Linked DNA regions of Homo sapiens: region 2 is linked to region 1. Evidence: promoter capture Hi-C in 16 types of primary human blood cells and fetal thymus (Javierre and others, 2016). All regions are on one chromosome and are shown on one strand. Each heading gives the region's core, a stretch centred on a gene start or on the middle of the fragment in contact. The rest is flanking DNA. Distances are from core to core; before and after follow the strand shown.

What was found. Contacts are between HindIII fragments. The CHiCAGO score rates a contact against its expected background, and 5 or more counts as called.
Region 2: a fragment that was not itself captured here is called in contact with the fragment with the promoter of C1QTNF1 in region 1 in 1 of 17 cell types (M0 macrophages); the score reaches 5.3 in M0 macrophages.

The regions. Positions count from the first base shown.
Region 1 is chr17:79,022,290-79,025,586 of GRCh38, forward strand. It overlaps C1QTNF1 (C1q and TNF related 1), which reads left to right and starts at 1,880. Exons shown (of 4, transcript NM_030968.5): 1 at 1,880-2,205. All of the region lies in intron 1 of C1QTNF1-AS1 (C1QTNF1 antisense RNA 1), which reads right to left. RefSeq lists a silencer at 2,212-2,301. The HindIII fragment of the contact is 3,178 bases long and covers 334-3,297 here.
Region 2 is chr17:79,370,577-79,373,551 of GRCh38, forward strand. All of the region lies in intron 2 of RBFOX3 (RNA binding fox-1 homolog 3), which reads right to left. Among named protein-coding and RNA genes, the nearest start is that of RBFOX3, 240 kb to the right of the region's middle. The HindIII fragment of the contact is 1,757 bases long and covers 762-2,518 here.

The sequences.
Region 1 (3,297 bases), core at 630-3,129:
ATCTCTTTCTCTTTCAAGCTGTGTGTCCCGCTTTGTGAATTCTGGTATCTGCCCACGACTTTCCTGAGTCTGAGGCTCCCAGGCAGGGCAACAAGAAGCCTTCTCATTGCACTGAGGGATTTCCTAGCTCGTAAGAGTTCTAGAAAGTCCCAGATTCTCTGAAGTATGGACGAAGGTCTCATAAGGGCTGCAAAAAATGCTGTTGTTTTCTCTGGTATCCCTGCACCAAGGGCTATTTGAGGACAGAGTAACTAAGGAAAGGTCAGTCCGTGTGCTAAGCCTTGCTCCTGGTGACTGGGAAACTTCCTCATGTCACTTACAGGAATGGAGACAAGCTTATCTCTGGCTTTTCCTGTATCAATAAGCAACCAGGGATGTAGGTTTTGCCAAGCCTCAGACACGTATGCCAAGAACACAAGCAACCCCTGATCTTCTAAGCCTAGCGGAGGCTGCATCTCTAGTTGGTTAAGTAGTGTTGACTTCATATCCCCATCGTGTCCTCTGAGTTCCCCCTGGGTGCTGGAGGCCTGGCAGCCTTTCTCCCTGTACTCACAGGAGGGGTTGACGCATGCAGTCAGGGCCTCTGTGGAGTGGCTTTTGGGCGCCTCGCCTGCCCGGAAGCCTCCCCTTCTGTTCTCATCTCCATTTGTCCTCAGCTCTACCTGAGTGCTGGCCTCGCCCAGCCTGGGGCAAGGCAGTGGGCATTGTGCTTGCACCCTCTTCTTCCTCTCCTTTTTGATTCTTTTCATCTGTCCAGTTGTTGGTGCGGCGGATGGGAGGACACTCCAGGCAGGGAAAGGTGAGGCCTCTTAGTTTTGCTCTGAATGTCCCAACCAGCATCCCCATTTTCGCATCTCCTGTTTGTCCAGAGACAGACCCTCACAGGAGGGATAACAAAACAAAAAAATCCAGCTGCAACATCGAGGTGAGGGGCAGCTCGGAGAGAACAGGGCAGAGGGGGGAAAAAAGAAGCAAAAAAAGGGGGAATGCTGTTATCATCAGAGCTGGCTTCTGCTTCTCTGGCCAAATCCTTCCCCTGCTAGTGATATGGTAAGTTTCCAGAGCAAGCTGGGCTGACGCAGAGTCTAGGGATGGAGACTGGGTCCCAACCAGGGCCGGCTCTGGAGCAGCCTGGATCAGGGATCAGGATGGGAGGGCAGCCTACGGGCCTTGTTCAGAAAAAATATTTGTGTATGACTGAGAAAATGTCAGGTTTTCATATCAAGGAATGAGAGGCCTGATAGAGACTGAGGAGTGCTTCCAGCCATCCTGGGCTCACCACTGTACTCGTGCTGTTCTCTAGAAAATGGAAATCTTCCCGGCAGGGGCTCCTTCCTAACCTTTAGATCACAGAGCTCTCAAGACTCTGAACAAAACAGTGGACCATCACCTTCCAAAGGTGATGCGCGCGCGCGCACACACACACACACACACACACACACACACACAGTTTGGCATTTTGTTATAGGGGGTTCACAGATTCCCCCAAACCTGTCTGAGTCCCCGATAATGCACAGGGCGTCTCAGGTCTGCCACTGTTTGGAGACCTGACCCCTCAGGGTTGGCCACAGCGGATCCCGGAGGCCTTGGGGCTCATCCCTCTGCTACCAAGTGACTAGGAGCGCTCAGCCTTGCTGGGCACCCCCATCCTGCGGGGGGCATTCTCGTCCGGGGCTCGCAGCCCCTCCGCCTCTGGACGGACCTCCAGACTCACGGAATCTGCCCCACCCCCACTCTCAGCCTGGCGGGCTCCCCAGGGGGCCGGGAGGAGGCGGCCGCTGGATTTCCCTGAGGCGCGGCGCGGGGCACACACGGTTAATCCTCCGCGGCTGCTGTTTGGACGAAAAGCGCTGGGGGTGTTGGAGGCTCCTCGCTGCTCACATCTGGCTGGGCTTCGCTCCTTGCGCGTCTGTCCCACTTTCTCCCTCTCTTCCTTTACTTTCGAGAAACCGCGCTTCCGCTTCTGGTCGCAGAGACCTCGGAGACCGCGCCGGGGAGACGGAGGTGCTGTGGGTGGGGGGGACCTGTGGCTGCTCGTACCGCCCCCCACCCTCCTCTTCTGCACTGCCGTCCTCCGGAAGACCTTTTCCCCTGCTCTGTTTCCTTCACCGAGTCTGTGCATCGCCCCGGACCTGGCCGGGAGGAGGCTTGGCCGGCGGGAGATGCTCTAGGGGCGGCGCGGGAGGAGCGGCCGGCGGGACGGAGGTAGGTGGCCGGGCCGGGGGACCCAGCGCTGCCCCGCCCCATCCTCGTGGCTTCAGCCTGGTGGCCAGGGCGGGGATGGCAGACACCTGGGCCGGGACGGACGGAGAGCGCCGTGGGAGGGGCCGGTTGGCGGTGGCGGCGCAGGGGCGGAAAGACCCGGGTTTTCGGGGGCAGCCCTGGCGTCTGGCTCTGGCTCAGCCCCCGCCATAGGCGCCTTTGCGCGGGGGTCATAATGGTCCCGGGTCTCCCTGACTGTGGAGGAGCGGGGCTTTTCTGCACGTGGATACTAACGGGAGGAATTGCACCTTCCCCCTAGTTTTTTGTGGGGTGTTTATCTTGTTTCACTGTTCTCTGGTGCCTTTCTGAGGGTGTGGAAGGAAGAGGAATGGTACTAATGCCCGCGGCTGCACCTGGCGGGGATGCCCTCACCCCACTCCTTATCACTGGGACCACCTGACCGCCGGGTCTGTCCAGTCCTGTCTGTGGCCAACCTGGACCTTCACGGAATAGGAAGCGCTGACTTTGGCCCCCCGCATCTGACAGCCTTGGTGTCCTGGAGGGGGTCCAGCTTGGGCAGGAAAAAACGGTGTTGCTTCCCCGGGGCCCTCCTGGGAAGCGAAGCTGCCTGTGCCGCTGGGAGTGGCCCCCCCGGCCTGGGGCTGGAGCCTCTGAGCCGCCCTGGGGCTTCTGGACCTCGCAGGTGGACCCACCGCCCACCACCCAGCCCTCCATGGCTTCTCCACCGGTGCAGGTGTGGTCCCCACTGTTAGCCCGGGCCTCGCGGGGCCAATACCCGGGCCACACTCTTCCAGCCCCAGAAAGCCAGATTATCTTCTCTGGACCCTCCGCGTGCTTCAGGCACCCTTGGGCCGACTCATCCCTGCTTGGGAGGGAGGGAGGAAGCCGCCCCCCTCTGTGAGGTGTTCCTGACTCTTCTACCCCACCTAGTTTCTAGGAAAGGAGGCAACATGACGTGCTGGGAGCTTTCTGGTCCTGAGCTTTGAACATGAGAAATGCCGTGAGAAACTGTTTTCTCCACCGCTGGCCACTTCACAGCCCCAGGGGAGCATGTGATGTCCTTACAGGCTGCCC
Region 2 (2,975 bases), core at 390-2,889, 350 kb after region 1:
AGGCACACACACGTACACGTCTCTCATACACCCTGACATGCACAGTCACATACACTAACATACATACATATGTGTGCTCACTCACACAGGCACACACATGTACACATCTCTCATACACCCTGAAATGCACGGTCACATACACTAACACATACGTGCTCACTAACACACACAGGCCTACGCTCACATACACACGCACATGTCTCATGCATACACCTTGACTTGCAGTCACACTCACTCACACACAAGCTCACTCACATATGCACACAGGCACATGCACACACATGCTTCTCTGGGTCCTTAGTTCCCAGGGCCAAGCACCTTATCTGGAGAAACCAGTGCCCCCATGTGGGGCCAAGCCAAGAACACCTGGAGCTCCCAGCAGGTGCTTGTGACTGGGAAGGCACCTTTCCTCTCCTCCCCCGGTAGGGGGTTAGGGAGGGAAGGGGGACATGCACGGCAGGGGACTTGGGGAGGCATGCACGGTGGGGTGGCTTCCCAGGCCAGCACGGTGTCCCTCCTCCTGTCTGGGTGTCCCTGGGCCACCTGCTCTGCACTGGGGCCTGGGACCTCCTTCTCTGCCTTTCTTCACTGAGGGACCATGGCGAGGGGCCACAGTGGCGGCCCTGTTGCCTCCATGGGGCAGATTAACCCCACTTTGCTCTGCCTGGGCACCTGGGTTTGGAAGGTTCTGGTACGTTCCACTGTGAAATGGGCACATCCGAAGGGCTGTGAATATCTTGCTGCTTTAGAACAAATGAGGAAGCTTTGCCCGTGGCCAGATTCCAGAGGAGCCCAGGGCTTCCGTCTTCCTCAGCTGAGTGCCCATGCTCGCCCTCCCCTTTCCTGCTCCCTGTGGGGGCAAGAGCTCCCTGGCTGCAGAGTGGCCCTTGTTGCTGGGCTCCATAGACCCCATGCAGTCTATCAGGGGCTTTGGCTCCTGAAGGCAGAGCACTCCTTGCTGCTCCTGACACCACTCTGTTTAAAGAGAAAATCGAGACGCCCAGAGTGTCCAGCAGTCCCTAGGGTTAGGGGCCACTCGATGAGGAAGGTCCCACCAACCAAATGTGGTGGGGGGACACGTGTCATCTCCAGGACACCCCCAGCAGCCCTCACGCTCTTTCCTCTTCTCGAAAATGTGGAAACCACGTGTTAAAGATGGCAGATCCTGCAAGTGGGAGGGACTGGGGCTTGGGGTCACCCTTGGGAGCAGAGCCTCGCCCTGGTCAGCCGTGCCCTGAGGGACCTGGCATGGTGAGAAGCGTGTCTCTGCTGTGTCACGACACTGAGATGGGGAGCTGGCTGTCCCCGCAGAAAGCATTGTTCAATTCATACCAAAACCAGGATCAGAGGATCGAGGCTCCTAAGCAGGCCAAGGAGAGGTGCAGAGCAACCACAGCCCACAGGCAGGTTCGGGGAGACCCTCCCCGCAGACGCTTCAGTTACAGGCAGGTTCGAGGAGACCCTCCTCGCAGACGCTTCATTTGGGCCTAGCACGGTGAATGCACCCTCTAAACGCCAGTAACTGCGAGGATGACTGTGGCCACGGCAGCCCTCAGCAATGCGCTGCCCGGTGCTGTGAGGGCTCCTTCCCCAGGAACAGCCTGCCCCGGACAGCACTGCCTGCCCGCAGGACTCTGTCAGCTGGCTCCCCAGCCTGTCCTATGGCCTCCCCATACTATCCCCGGCAATCCTATGGCTCCCCTGGGTCCTATAGCCCCTCTATACTATAGACCCCCCCCTGTCAAATCCCCCCCATCCTATGTCTCCTCCCAGGTCCTACAGGCCCCACCTCCCCATCCTGTGGATCCCCCTAAGCCCTATGGGCTCCCCCATCCTATGGCTCTCCTCAGTCTTATGACCCCCCAGTTTTATGTCTCCCCCCTGGACTTATGGGCCAGTCCATGGCTCCGCCTCTGTGTGATGGATGCTCCCAAGGCCAGGCCTGGCCCGGGCTCCCACCCCTGCGGGTCTTTCTCCATTCTAAATCCCCCCCAGATCCCTGCCAGGATGAACAGCCTAGCTCAGCCCAGTCTCCTGGCTGGAGGCTCTGGGATGTCAGCTCCCCCATGTTTCCTGGGGACTTCCTCCCCACCCACAGGGGCAGGGCAGGGACAGACGTGTGAGACACACCTGATTAACCCTTCTCATGCTCCAGAAAAAGGGGAGTCTGGGCAGGGACTGTTGCCCACCTTTGCGTGGGCATCAGGAGGAACCAGCATAGAGGTAGAGCTGCGTGTCCAACTGGCCGCAGGTGTGCTGGGGGAAGCTGACAGAAAACATGAGTCTGTTCCTGAGATTTTTCTGGTGCAATTGCGTGAAATGAGTCTATAACGCAGAGCAAGACAGGGCAGAAGGTGGGCGGGGACTGGCAGGAGTCAGGGGCTGATAAGGAACAAGGGCCAGCAATTAGAGCCCAGCCCAGGGTGGATGGGGCCGGCCCACTGGACTTTTATCTCACTCCTCGGAAGAGGAAGCTCACGTCGCCTCTCAGCAGGTGGGGCAGAGGCCTGGCCTCCAAAGCTTGCAGAGACAGGGGTGACGGCAGGGGAGCAGGTTGATTCCAACCCCATTTCCATGTGTTACAAATGCACCGGACTCCCCCAGCTGTGGCCCAGGCCTCAGGTCCATGAACCCCTCCAAGTTCTTCCCTCTGTCCTCCCCACCCCTACGGCCCCCACACATACATACTCAACTCCAGCTCCTTAAGGGCCTAGTCGACACCTCTCCCCACATTTCCATTTGGAGAAAATGAAGCTCAGAGAGGGAAGGGGGCTTGCCAAGGACCCAGCCCAACCCTACCAGGCACTCGGGCTGGGCGTGGGAGCATGTCACGTGCTCAGAGCCTCTGATCATGAATGGCAGCACCAGCCTGAACCCATCCTGGCTCCATTCAGAACACACCTGAAATCCTTTCTCCAAAGTGCTCTGTGAAATGGGTCAGAGGGGCCAGACGGGTGCTTACCTGAACACACATC